Regions from separate parts of the Homo sapiens genome. Here region 1 is linked to region 2. Evidence: promoter capture Hi-C in 16 types of primary human blood cells and fetal thymus (Javierre and others, 2016). All regions are on one chromosome and are shown on one strand. The core of a region is centred on a gene start or on the middle of the fragment in contact, and the rest is flanking DNA. Distances in the headings are between cores, read along the strand shown. Region 1 overlaps COA7 (cytochrome c oxidase assembly factor 7). Region 2 holds the start of TUT4 (terminal uridylyl transferase 4).

Region 1 (7,416 bases), core at 3,643-6,142, 130 kb before region 2:
TAGGCTTCCGTTTTGCAGCCGTCCTGAAAGGAAGGCTTGCTGTGTAAATGAAGGCTTGTGAGCACAGCAGCCAGCCTCTCAAGTTGATAGAGGACAGGGACTTCCCCAAGTGCACAGAGGAGATTTCAAAAGACATCAAATTCACTTTTTAAAAATGTAAAGTAGCTTTTGGTGTGCTTAAACTAGGTCAGGCCAGGCGTGGTGGCTCATGCCTGTAATCCTAGCATTTTGGGAGGCCAAGGCAGGTGGATCACTTGAGGTCAGGAGTTCGAGATCAGCCTGGCCAACATGACGAAACCCCTTTCTCTACTAAAAATATAAAAATTAGCTGGGCGTGGTGATGCATACCTGTAATCCCAGCTACTTCGGAGGCTGAGGCAGGAGAATCACTTGAACCTGGGAGGCAGAGGTTGCAGTAAACTGAGACTGTGCCACTGCACTCCAGCCTGGGCAACACAGCAAGACTCTGTCTCAAAAACAAAAACAAAACTAGGCCAGGTGCAGTGGCTCACGCTTGCAATCCCAGCACTTTGGGAGGCCGAGGCAGGCGGATCACGAGGTCAGGATTTCGAGAACAGCCTGGCCAACATAGTGAAACCTCGTATCTACTAAAAATACAAAAATTATCTGGGTGTGGTGGTGGGCACCTGTTGTCCCAGCTATTCAGGAGGCTGAGGCAGGAGAATCGCTTGAACCCAGGAGGTGGAGGTTGCAGTGAGCCAAGACCATGCCATTGCACTCCAGCCAGGTAACAGAGTGAGACTCTGTCTCAAAAAAACACACACACACACACACACAAAACTGTAGGTCAAAAAACATGAAAATATGTTCAACATCACTAATTAGGGAAATGTAAATCAAAAACCACAATGAACTCTTAAAATTCAACAGTAAGAAAACAACCTGATTAAAAACAGGCCAAAACCCTTAACATATCTCAGCAAAGAAGATAGACAGGTGGCAAATAAGCATATGAAAAGATGTTCCATATAACATGTCATCAGGAAAATGCAAGTTAGAACAACAGACCACTATACAACTATTAGAATGGCCAAAATCCAAAGCACCGACAGCATGAAATGCTGGGAAAGTTGGAGCAACCAGAACTCTTATTCCTTGCTGGTGGGAACGCAAGATGGCACAGCCACTTTGGAAGACAGTTAAGCAGTTTCTTACAAAAACTAGGTAAGCTCTTACCATGTGATCCAGCAATCTTGCTCTTTAGTATTTACCTGAAGGAACTGAAAACATGTCCACACAAAAACCAGCACATGGATGTTTATAGCAGCTTTATCTATAATTGCCAAAACTCAACCCAAAATGTCTTTCAGTAGGTAAATGGGTAAATAAATTGTGGTGCATGTAGTCATTATTCAGTGCTTAAATCAAGCTATGACAAATTATGAGTTATCAAGCTATAAGAAGTCACAGAGGAACTTAAATGAATGCTACTAAATGAAGCCAGTCTGAAAAGGCTTCATATTAAATGATGCCAACTATATGACACTGGGATGTATTCTGGAAAAGGCAAAACTATGGAGACAGTAAAAAGCAGTGGGTGGGGGAGGGGAGGGAGGAATAATTGGAGCACAGAAGATTTTTAGGGCAGCGAAACTACTCTGTATGATACTATAATTATAAATACCTGTCATTGTACATATGTCCAACCCCCTAAAATGTACAACACCAAGAGTGAACCCTAATGTAAACTGTGGACTTTGAGTGATAATGATGTGTCAGTGTAGGTTCATCAATTACTGCAAATGTACCTCTTTGGTGGGAGATGTTGAAAATGGTGGAGACTATGCATGTGTGGGGACAACAACTATATGGGAAATCTCTGTACCCTCTCAATTTTGCTGTAAACCTAAAATTGCTCTAAAATATAAAGTCTATTAAAACCACAATGATATTGCCTCATATCCCATTAGGATGGCTACTATTAAACACCAAAACAAAGTAAGTGTTGTCAAGGATACAGAGAAATTAGAACCCTGTGAACTGGTGCAGCTCCCCCAAAATGAAAAACAGAATTGCCGTTTGATCCAGCCATTCCACTTCTGGGTACATATCTGTGTTAGGCCATTCTTGCATTGCTATAAAGAAATACCTGAGACTGGGTAATTTATAAAGAAAAGTTTAATTGGCTCAGGAAGCATGGTGCTGTGCATCCTATTGGCTTCTGGTGAGGCCTCAGAAGCTTACAGTCATGGTGGAAGGCACAGGGGGAGTCAGTGTATCACATGGTGAGAAGGCAAGAGCAGGAGCAAGAGAGTGAGCAAGGGGAGATACCACACACAAATCTCCTGAGGACAGCACCAAGGGGAGGGTCCTAAACCATTCATGAGAAATCCTCCCCATGATCCAATCACCTCCCACCAAGCTCCACCTCCAACATTGGGGATTAAATTTCAACGTGAGATTTGGGGGACAAGTATCCAAACTATTAATATCCAAAAGAATTGAAAGCAGGGTCTCCAAGAGGTATCTATACCCATATTCTTAGCAGCACTATTCATAGTAACCAAAGGGTAGAAGGAACCCAAATGCCCATCAGCAGATGAATGAATACACAAAAGGCGAGATGTACATGCAATGGAATATTATTCAGCCTTGAAAAGGAAGGAAATTCTGACACATGCCACAAAACATGGCTGAATCTTGAGGACATCGTGCTAAGAGAGTCACAAAAAGACATGCTGTATAAGCCAGTCACAAAAAGACATGCTGTATATGAGGCATCTAAACTTGGGTATGAGTTGTATATAAACTCAGAAACAGAAAGTAAAATGGTGGCTGCCAGGGGCTGGGGTGAGGAGGAAATGAGTTTTTTGTTTTTGTTTTTGTTTTGAGATAGGCTCTTGCTCTGTCGCCTAGGCTGGAGTGCAGTGGCACTATCATAGCTCACTGCAGCCTCTAACTCCTGGGCTCAGGTCATCCTTCCACCTCAGCTTCCCAAGTAGCTGGGACTACAGGTACACACCACCACGCCCAGCTAGTTTTTGTATTTTTTGTAGAGACGAGGTTTTGCCATATTGCCCAGGCTGGTCTTAAACTCCTGAGCTCAAGTGATCTTTCCGCCTCGGCCTCCCAAAGTTCTGGGATTATAGGTGTGAGCCACCATGCCTGGCCAAAATGGGTTGTTTAATAGGTAAAGAGTTTCAAATTTGTAAGATGAAAAAATAATGGAGATTGTTACACATCAAATGTGAATATACTTAACACTACTGAACTATATGTTTAAAAATGGTTAACCCAGCCTGGCTTACATGGTGAAACCCTCTCTCTACTAAAGATACAAAAATTAGCTGGGCGTGGTGGCATGCGCCTGTAGTCCCAACGACTCAGGAGGCTGAGGCACGAGAATCACTTGAACCTGGGAGGTGGAGGTTGCAGTGAGCTGAGATTGCACCACTTCACTCCAGCCTAGGCAACAGAGTGAGACTCCATCTCAAAAAAAAAAAAAAAAAAAAAAAAAAAAGAGGTTAACATGGTAAATTTTATGTTTTACCACAATTTAAAAAAAAAACATATTGACTTTTTAAAAATGCAAGGTTTGAAGTTTTTTTATTATAAAATTAGTATGTTCTCATAAAATGCAATTTGAAACAGAAGAAACCATCACCCCTCACTATTCTTTTATCACCTATGGGCATTCTTTGGCACAATAGCGTTCTCACTATTTAACCATTTTTTTAAAGAATCATATCTTTTTTTTTTTTTTTTTTTTTTTGAGATGGTGTCACCCAGGCTGGAGTGCAGTGACGTGATCTCAGCTCACTGCAACCTCCACCTCCCAGGTTCAAGTGATTCCCCAGCCTCAGCCTCTTGAGTAGCTGGGACTACAGGCGAGCGCCACCACAGCCGGCTATTTTTTGTATTTTTAGTAGAAATGGGGTTTCACCATGTTGATCAGGCTGGTCTCTAACTCCTGACCTCAGCTGATCCACCCACCTTGGCCTCCCAAAGTGCTAGGATTACAGGCATGAGCCACTGTGCCCTGCCAAGAATCATATCTTTTCAACTAACAGGTTTTGTAATTTTTTTTTTTCTTTTTGAGATAGGGTCTCTCTGTGTCACCTAGGCTGGAGTGCAGTGGTGCAATCATAGCTCACTGCAGCCTCAACCTCCTGGGCTCAGGTGATCCTCCTACCTCAGTCTCCCAAGTAGCTAGGGACTACATGTGCGTGACACCATGCCCAGTTAGTTTTCATGTTTTTTGTAGATATGGGGTCTCGCTGTGTTGCCCAGGCTGGTCTCAAACTCCTGGGCTCAAGCGATCCTCCTGCCTCAGCCTCCCAACATGCTAGGATTACAGACATGAGCCACTTGCCCCACTGGGTTTTGTAATTTTGAAGAACTAAGTTTGATTTTTGGGTGGCAGATGTACTGGATTTTTTTTTTGAGATGGAACTTCACTCTTGTTGCCCAGGCTGGAGTGCAATGGCATGATCTCAGCTCACCGCAACCTCCGCCTCCCGGGTGCAAGCAATTCTCCTGCCTCAGCCTCCTGAGTAGCTGGGATTACAGGCATGTGCTACCACACCCGGCTAATTTTGTATTTTTAGTAGAGACAGGGTTTCTCCATGTTGGCCAGGCTGGTCTCGAACTCCCGACCTCAGATGATCCACCTGTCTCGGCCTCCCAAAGTGCTGGGATTACAGGCGTGAGCCACTACACCCAGCCTTTTTTTTTTTTTTTATGGACGAGTTCCTACCTGGGACTTCTGGTACTTGCCTTCCTGAGTCACATACTTAGTGGGGCAGGGAACAATAGAGTGAGCATTAACTGTGTCAAAATGTTATATTTCCCTAAAGTTATTAAAATGCAAAGAATAATAATTTACTGTTCAGAATGGTCCAAGGCCATTTCATACCCAGGCTACTGTGGGAAGCAGTAGGTTGGTAAGAGCCAGCATGGATAAGTTTCTCACTTTAATGCAGCCTTTGAGGCAAGGTTTGAAAATCGCTTTTCAGACTCTGGTCACAGCAAGCAGTATCATTACTGTGTCTTCTAGCCAGCAGGCATTGGATCATCATTAACAACTATTTCCTACGTTTTTCCTCCATGCTAGGCTTGGGCTGGATACAGGACATTCAGAGCTGGCCTGATGGTCTGTCTAATGGGAAAGACGGTTCATAATTGACTCTGGCGGTTTGTGTTCTCACTAAAATCTTTTTTTTTTTTTTTGAGACACAGTCTCACTCTGTTGCCCAGGCTGGAGTGCAGTGGTGCGATCTTGGCTCACTGCAACCTCTGCCTCCCGGGTTTGAGAGATTCTCCTGCCTCAGGCTCCTGAGTAGCTGGGATTACAGGCCACCACGCCCAGCTAATTTTTGTATTTTTTAGTAGAGATGGGTTTCACCATTTCACTATGTTGGCCAGGCTGGTCTTGAACTTCCAACCTCAGATGATCTGCCTGCCTCTCCCTCCCAAAGTGCTGGGATTACAGGCGTGAACCGCTCTGCCCGGCCAATGCTCTCACTAAAATCTGACAGTATGGTGCTCAGTACTGTGAGGAAGGAAAGGAAGAGTCCCAGAGAGGGAAGGGAAAACCTGAGGGTATAGAGATTTGGCTTTTATCTTGTGGGTAATGCAGAGTCACGAAAGGGTTTTGATCAGGTTTGGAAATTAGAAAGATCATCCCCAGTGCAGAAAATGAATCACGGGGGAAAGACTGGAGGCAGGAAGACCAATGAGGAGATGGCTGCAGATGTCAAGGTGAGACATGGTGGGGCCTGAGCTAAGGCCTGTCAAGCAAGGAAGGGAGCACAGGTGAGAGGCCAGACAGCTGAATAAGCAAAATTGAGCCATGCGGGGGTGGGAAGAAGGTGGGGTTGAGCATGAGGTTGAAAAATATAAACCAAAACAGGTTTAGCTTGGGCATCTAGGTGGACAGTGGAGCTATTCATATTGATTTGGAGCCTGTGGTGTGGGGATGGGGACAAGAACTCTGAACTGTTGGGTGATTTTTTAAGTTTTATAAATAAATAGCATTTTTATTTGTTTTATGAAGTTGCTTGAAAAATTGTATGAAGGGCAGCGTGGCAGAGGGAAAATGCCTAGACTTCAGATCCTACAGATGTGGACAATTCTGGATTAGTCAAAGGCAGAATACGCATGTATATTTAGGACACCTAACAAAGAATGAGAAATATATACATTTAAAAATAGTAATGTTATATTCCTTTTTTTTTTTTTTTTTGAGACAGAGTCTCGCTCTGTCACCCAGGCTGGAGTGCAGTGGCTCGATCTTGGCTCACTGCAAGCTGCAAGCTCCGCCTCCCATTCTCCTGCCTCAGCCTCCCGAGTAGCTGGGACTACAGGCTCCCGCTACCATGCCTGGCTAATTTTTTGTATTTTTTTTTAGTGGAGATGGGGTTTCACCGTGTTAGCCAGGATGGTCTCGATCTCCTGACCTCGTGATCTGCCTGCCTCAGCCTCCCAAAGTGCTGGGATTACAGGCGTGAGCCACCGCTCTTGGCCTACATTTCTTTTAAAGCATCAAGTAATCACTTTGTGGGGGGAATGAAGACTTTTTTGGGTTCTTTATGTTCATTTTGCAGTTTAGATCTCTTTTATTGTGAATTCTATATTAGGGTTGGTGGGGGCGGGGTGTACCAGACTATTTTCAGTTCTTAGGTCTAAAGGTCTTAGCCTGGGTTCTGACCTGAGTTTTGCTTTTTATTGGCTGTGTGACCTTAGACAAGTTACTCTACCCTCTTTTCGGATTTTGTCACCTCTCAGGTGGGGATAACAATGTCTTCTAGTAGGGTTGTTAGGAGGAGTAAATAGTAACTCTTATCGTAGAATGATAAATGCTGATTTAAAAAGACTTTTGTGGAATGAAATCTTACAATTAGATAATTGTCTTTTTTCTGAGTGGTATTGTTACCTTGTGAGGGAGTCTAGCTTTTAAAACAGCCTGCCTTTGCTGCCATTCTTTGAATATCCAGGGAGCTGACGGTGAGGCTCTCCAGGGGTACTGATGGCACAAAACAGCTGCAGGGGGCATGCCTGGGGCAGGGGAAAAGTAGGGGGCTGCCCCTACTTTTTCCCTTCTCCACTGCCTGAGCACAGAGTCACTGAGAAGACTTGCACCTGCTGGGGGCCCAGAGTGGAAACTATTCCCAGCTGGTGCCCCTCCCCAGGCTTGAGGAATGGTGATTGTATTACAGTTTATAAATCAGGCCTCCCCACTGTCTAAAGGGGAAAGGCCAAAATTCTTTGCCCAGTGTGTCTCCCCACTCCCATGAGATGATCCCTGCCTCCATATTTAGCCCCATCTTATTCCTAACTCAGGCATCTTTGCATCAGGGAACTGCTTGTGGTCTCTGCACCACCTGCCCCACCCCCAAAATATCCCTATCTCTCTCTCTCTCTCACACACACACACACACACACAGAGAGAAATTA
Region 2 (7,147 bases), core at 2,704-5,203:
TTTATAGCATCATCTTCTGCCATGTATATATGTTCTTGATATCTCTAACTTTATGAACGCTAATGTCCTTTTAAATTCTAAAATCTTATTCACTTAAAAAAATGCCACCTTAAGAAAAACTGACTGTTTCTAATGTTTCAATGAAGTAAGCTGCAGGGTGTGGCTGTAGTTTAAAATTCCACGCATAGAATCCTCAGGACAGATGAAATGGAATCAACAGGTAGAAAGTACACACATGTGCTAGTGTGAGTCTAAGGGCACATGAAATCCAAATGGGGCAGATGAGAAGAAACTAAATTTTAAGAAGAAAGGGAATTCATTTGTGTGGAACATTTACTATGAAATAGGCATTTTTACACATTTTCATCTCATTGACTTTTAAGAATGCAAACAGACAAAGAGAAGTAAATCCTTTACACTATCTTGAGGTGAGCACACACCTCAAGAGCTTTGGTATTGTCATGATCTTTGCAAGAATCACAAAAATTTTAGACACTGACCATATCTTATGCTTTATAGACAATTTAGAGTGTCAACAAGCAATTTCTGAGTGCTTTCTATATGTGTCAGGATTATGCTGGGTGCTGAAAATACAAAGGTAAAGGAGACTTGGTTAGGACCACATCATGGGGGTGATGCACTGTTTTTCACTAGAGATCATTATCACCCAGGGCCTATAGTCTCTCTCCTTGGAGAAATCAAGTACACAGGAAAAAAAAAAATGGGGCTCAGAGAAACAGCTTAGCAGGTCTGATTGTATTTATCTCTGCTTACAAGTGATCAGTGATTCCCCAATAACTATAATATAAAGCCTGCTTTTTTTCCAGTGGCATACAGGGCCCTTTATGATCAAACAGCAAAACTTGGTTTGAACAGACTTAGGCACCTTTCTTTTTTCTTGAAATGGAGTCCTGTTCTGTCACCCAGACTGGAGTGCAGAGGCATGATCTCGGCTCACTGCAACCTCTGCCTCCCGGGTTCAAGCGATTCTCCTGCCTCAACCTCCTGAGTAGCTGGGATTACAGGCACCCACCACCATGCCTGGCTAATTTTTGTATTTTTAGTAGAGATGGGGTTTCACCATGTTGCCCAGGCTGGTCTTGAACTCCTGACCTCAAGTGATCTGCCCACCTCGGCCTCCCAAAGTGCTGGGACTAGGCACCTTTCTTGTTATAATTTTACTTACCAAGTCACCTTTTCATTCAATATTATTAGTTTTTTACTAAGTTTTCTTATTCACCTAGGAAGACAACAGAATATGAATATTGATCCACTGAGTAATTATATTCCTCATGAGATACAATGAAATAAGATTTTTACTGCAAGTTATTTTCACCTGGGTTTGGATGAAACTAAGTTTTCAGAACTTCCAGACTGGAGGCTTAACCACAATCATGAGATTTCCCTTGAAAGTTTAAGTCCTCAGAGGATTTTTACATAGAAATCAGACATTTACCATTTTATATCTCAAAAACCTGTGGTTCAATGGGAAGAATACAGGGCTGGTATTCTAGTCCAGCCTGTGACTTACTGTATGACCCTGGGCATGAATTAAACCTTATACTCCATAAATTTCCTTATTCTTTGTGTCAGAACCATACTTGCTCTAGCTGTGATGATAAAATTATAGTTGTCAAAATTTTCAACTCGACAACTATGTAGGTATCAGAAGGAATACCTTGTAAGTATCTGTGCTGAAGTGTACAATCTATTGGGGTCACGGAATTCAGAGAATAGAGGGATCACATTCAGTGGAGTGCAGAGGAGGGGTGGTAATCAGGAAGATTTAATAAAGAAGGTAGAGGTTGAGCTGGGTCTTGGGGAATAAGCAAGGTAGTAGAAGAGAGTATCTGGAGGGGATAAGGGCAGAGAGGCACTGAAATTTTCAGTCTGGCCCCAGTTTTCTTTTCCAGATTCATTATCTTCTGCACACTCCAGAGTCAATGCTGCCCTCTGAATCACAGACATGTGTCTGGCACACAGCAGACAGATCTTCAAGGTCCAGCTTTTAGTTCTTCCACGGAAGTCTCACCAAAGTGGAATTTATCACACTCTCCTCTGGATTTGCCCAGCCCTTTGTTAATAAGACCTGTTGCTTTTATTGTAGCTCACCTGCTTGCTCAATGGGGAACTTTTTGGAGACAGGAAGCAATGATTTGTCTTTGTTTCCCTAGGCACCTAACAACGCTTTGCTCTTAAGTAATTAGGAAATGTTTACTCAATTGAACTTGTTCTAAGGACACTGCTATCACTGAATTGAAGGGCATGTCGGTATCTTCTTAGTGTCTCTATAGGCTTTAGGCTTTCAGCCGGGTGAAGTAGGGATTTTTTCTTTGTTTCCAGGCTAGTCAAGCGAAGCAGGGATACAGATTAAGAATTTGCAGATGAGGAAACTCAAGAGGGTACATTTGCTCAAAGGCATCATGTTGATAAACGCCAAAACCAGGTAGGGCTCTTTTGACTTGAAATCCAGTCCTCTATCCATTATACCTGGGCCTTGTAGCATCAGCCAGATTGGGGTAAAATGCACTAACTCTGAACCCTAGTTTTTTCATCCGTAAATGAGAGCAACAGTACGTAACTCACAGGGCTATCGTGAAGTGGAGCGTCCCTCTGTGACCTCTAACCAGTCCCAGCCTGAGTCACATTATAAGAAAATTTATAAGGCACTATCTTGTAAATACTTAAGATTTAACATCTTCCCTTCACCTCTACGTCCACTCTTTTCATACCTTTTTCCTGCCTAGCATGTGTCAAACTCAAAGGACTGGGCACAGAGCACAGAGGTTGTGTGCTTTGTCCAGCTTTGAGGTCAGAGATTGGCTAAATAATCTCTGAGGCTGGGGTCTTAAAAAAAAACAACAAAAAACAAAACTAACAAAACCTTAAGTCCGTTCCGCCCGTGACTTTAAATAATTATGTAGAGGAATGTAATACGTTAAAAGCAAGGGGATGAGGGGGCCCATTGATGGTAGATGGTTTTATGCCCGCCTGCAGCTAAAGAAATGATTTCTAAAACCTCTTTTGGGGGTGGGAGATGGAGTGCTCCAGAGATTTCTCTTCGAGCTCCTTCATTCCTGAACTGCCTGCCTTTTCAAAGGAAAAAAGGTCCAGCTGCGGTGGGCTGGAGGCCGTGGTGAGTGGGTGGGGGTCGACCCTGGCGGCTTCCTCTGCCCCGCTCCCTACCGTTGCTCCGAAGCCCGCTTGGGCTTCCGAGGGTCCGCCGAGGCTCGGGCCACGCCCAGTCCGAGTGCCAGGCCAGAGGGTACCCATTCCAGGCCGGCCTTCCTCCCCAGGGGGAGCAGCCTTGGGAGCGAGGCGCCGAGGCGGCCCTCGGGCTCGGCTTCCAGCTCGGGGGCCTCGGCAGAGACTAGGAACCAGACTGGGGCAGCACTGGGGCGCCCGCCACCCCCACCCACTCCGGCAAGCGGGCGAATCAGCGCGGCTAACCCGCGGCGCCCAGGCGGGCTGCGGGACCTCGCGACCTCCGCTCGGCGGCCCCGCCCCTGCCCGCGAGCCCCGGGTGGCTCCCTCCTCCCCTCTGCCAGCGGCCCGCCCCCTCCTCGCGAGCTAACGAGTGTCTCTCGCGCGCTCCCTTCCCTCCGCGTGGGTGTGAGTGCGCGATCCTCCTACCTCGGCCTTCTCCCCATTGTTTCTTCGCGGCCACCACGAGACCCCTCCCCCCAGTGCTGTTTCCCCCCTCCCCCGCCCCGGTGTAAACGGTGCCTGTGGGGCCCCCCGAACGAAGGGAGGGGGCACCCCTGAACCCTTCCCTCTGCGCGTAGCTCCTCCTCTCCCGGGCCAGGACCCCATTACAGGCTCTGTCCTCTCCCCTCCCCCTCTCCCCCGGCAACCGCTCTCCCTCGCCCCCTCCCCTCAGCGGGTCCTCCTCTTTCTCTCCCTCTCCCTCTCCCTCCTCCTCCCCCTCCCCATCCCTTCCCCCCCACAATGCAGTTCGCGGCGCGGCGGACATGGCGGTGGAGTCCTGAGCTAGTCGTGTCCCGGCCTCCAGCGGCGGCAGCGGCGACGGCGGCGGCAGCAGGAGGCGGAGGGAGAGCAGGAGCCACTGAGATGAGGAGGCGTCGCGCGCGCCTGTAGCTCGCGGGCCTCGCAGGTACGAGGTTCCGGCCGCGGGGCAGCGTCGGGTACCGAGGGGGTGTGCTCGGGAAGGCCGGGCGGCCCCCGGTTCGCCCTCCCCAGGTGCCGCGCTTCGCAGGTGTCGGGGGCCTGGCCTGAGAGCGTCTCAGCCGCCCCCTGGGGGCCTGACACTTCTTTCTTTCCTGGAACGGGCTTCGGGTGTCCCAGGGGAAGGCTGAGATAAGGGAGGTGGGGACGGCGGCCTGGGCGGCCTGAGGAGGGCATTGGGGCGCTTTGGGGACGAACTCCACACTGTGGCTGGGGCTCCCGGTCCCGGACCGAAACCTGTTGTAGACCAGCGGGGCGGATTTTGAGTTAACGGGATTGGTTTGAACATTTCTGTTGGGTCCAGTTACGATTCCCTGTCATGTGTACCTTTTTCTTTCACCCTTGCTTAGACATAGGTGACTACATAATGTATATAAATGTATACACGCATATAATACATACTGAATGTTTCCCCGGGCTCGTCCTTGTAGGGAGAAGGCAGAGGTGTCTGTGTGGATTTTGTTTCTTGCTCGCCCGCCTTCTCTCTCCCCCGCCCCCCAGTCGAAAGGTGGTAATGCGCGGTTTTGACGTGGGTAACTGAGATTCGTATTTGTAAACAGATAGCGCTCTCCTAGTGTGTTGCACGCCTCTGCGAAGGGTTTCAGACTCCTGTTGGTATCTGGATTGCGAAAGAATGAGATGTTTAGACCTGAAAGAAGCACATCAGCGGGATTTCTAGTCGTACTTGAATGGGATGAATTACTGTTGTATTAACAACGTTGATTACACATTTTCTTTTCAGAAGATTTCGAAGTCTTAGATGAATTTTGCGTGAGATCTTAGATACCGTATATCTGCTTCTTCATTTTGATAGAAGTAGTAGTTCCTTACACATTTGACCTGCCCTATCGTGATCTTAAATTGTGTCCAGAAATGCAATTCGAATTGTGTATTGTTGGCATGCATTTAGTAATTAGCCCGAGTGGATCAGATGGCCTTTTATTTCCAAAGATTTTTTCCCTCCAGTCTTACAGCAGCGAAATGTTTGTAGCACTTGATGAAACAGAACATATCCTGTTTCTGTTTTTAAAGTAATGAGAACTGTTAGCTAATAAAATTGGATAATCCCAGCCAGATATGATAATTCAGAGAATACCACCGAGAGGTGTTGAATTGTGGGATGGTTTAAAAAGAAAAGCCGACTTTGTGTGTGTGTGTGTATGTGTGTGTGTGCGCGCGCGAGCGCGCTGAAATTTTCTTTAGGCTTAGAACTCATGTATGTCACTACACTGCATCGTAGTACTGATTAGTCACAACTGGTAAAATGAAATATTGATTCTCTTAAAAAGCTGTGCTTAAGATAACTCATTAGTGTCTAGTGTGCTATGTTGCTTTTATAAACAAATTTTTAAAGATTGCTTCTTAGAAACCATATACTTTGGGGAAGATAAGAATTTTAAGTCGTTTTATGCTTTAAAAATATTTATATTTAATATAAACAAAAGAAACTTACTTTTAAAACTCTTAGATAAATTTTTCTGCTGCTTGCAGTTTTTCACTTGGCTAGTGTGGAAAATGAAAAATGAAGTTTTCTTAAAATAATTCAGAAATGGAAGTGAAAGTTAATGACATTTGATGTTTTAAATCCAGCAAACATTTAAATACAGAAAAGAAATTTAAAGTATTTTCATTGTCATAGGCCAAGTTGTTAGTACAGATAAATTAACAAATATTGTCATGCATATAAGTTCAAGTTTATAAATTCTAAGTGACACCTAAAATTACATTTATTTTTAGTTGCTGGAGCTAGAACAGTACAGTGTCTACATTTTAATTTTAGACCTTTTAGAATCAAAATGTATAATTATAAATTTCTCTGATTAACAAAGAGCTGTTTAAAGAGAATTTTTATTAGCTCTCAGCAGATTCATTTTAGAGTAAGTAATTAGAATTCTTTTTTATCTCAAAGTTAATCTTGACATAAAAATAAGTACCATTAATTATGTTGTGTTCTCTACAGAATGTCAAATCAGGATCTGTTGATCAAGAAAGGTGTTTGAATTTATTCACTGTTAAAGTTTCTAGTTTCAGAGAAACAAAATAACCAACACTTACCTGTAGGGCCTGGCCAGGTGGCTCACTCACGCCTGTAATCTCAGCACTTTGGGAAGTGGAGGCGAGAGGATTGCTTGAGCGTAGGAGTTTGATATCAGTCTGAGCAGCATAGTGAGACTTTGTCACTGCCAAAAAATAAAAGAAATTAGCTGGGCGTGGTGGTGTGCGTCTGTAGTCCCAGAAGCTGAGGTAGGAGGTTTGCCTGAGCCCAGAGTTCAAGGTTGCAGTGAGGCACAGTTGCGCCACTGTACTCCAGCCTGGGCGACAGAGTAAGACCCTGTCTTAAACAAAAAAAAAAAAAAAAAAAAGCAATACTTACCTGTTAATGTTGATGCCAGAACATTTTGTTTGACAAAATAGAACTCAATGAGTTGTGTTCCTTTTTCAAATAAATTGCAAATACTTGAATTGATTAAAAAATGTTAAATTCAGTTAAAGCCACTGCAGTAGGATAGAAATACGTTCTAAAAAAGAACAATTCCAGAAAGACCTAAAAAAGTCAAAGGAAAGGGACACCATACTTTAAAACAGGATATGTAGACTTTTTGTTATTAATCTTAGAGCAATTAGAGTTGTTTACTGGGTACTAACTGAATTGTTTTAATTCTAGAATCCTAAATAATTACATAATTTGGGGGAAATGTTTAAAAACCATCATTTCTGCAGAGTATTTTTCTTTCCTTTTTTAAATCTTTATTTTATTATGTACAGACTATATTCAAATAAACCACACACTCTGAAAAAGCAGGTTCCGACTTTTCCTCCGGAGTATTTCTTACAGGCCCAAGGAGAAGAAAGGGTATATAAATGCAAAGATTAATGTTAGGATTTTTCCCCCTTAAGTGAGAGATTTGTGTGGTGTCTTATGTTCAAATTATTTTTATGTCACATCATCTCATTGGATATC

Evidence for each region. The method cuts DNA at HindIII sites, captures the fragments that hold promoters and counts their contacts. A CHiCAGO score of 5 or more calls a contact.
Region 1: a contact is called between a fragment that was not itself captured here and the fragment with the promoter of TUT4 in region 2, in 1 of 17 cell types (neutrophils). The highest score is 6.6, in neutrophils.

Annotation. Positions count from the first base shown.
Region 1 is chr1:52,678,940-52,686,355 of GRCh38, reverse strand. It overlaps COA7 (cytochrome c oxidase assembly factor 7), which reads left to right. Exons shown (of 3, transcript NM_023077.3): 3 at 1-1,907. Among named protein-coding and RNA genes, the nearest start is that of COA7, 16 kb to the left of the region's middle. The HindIII fragment of the contact is 5,380 bases long and covers 2,203-7,416 here.
Region 2 is chr1:52,549,898-52,557,044 of GRCh38, reverse strand. TUT4 (terminal uridylyl transferase 4) reads left to right here and starts at 3,953. Exons shown (of 30, transcript NM_001009881.3): 1 at 3,953-4,114. It overlaps LOC105378723 (a long non-coding RNA gene), which reads right to left. Exons shown (of 4, transcript XR_007066083.1): 2 at 6,241-6,365; 3 at 5,639-5,688; 4 at 4,208-4,804. RefSeq lists silencers at 3,251-3,650, 3,661-3,770, 3,811-3,940, 4,011-4,340. The HindIII fragment of the contact is 23,021 bases long and covers 1-7,147 here.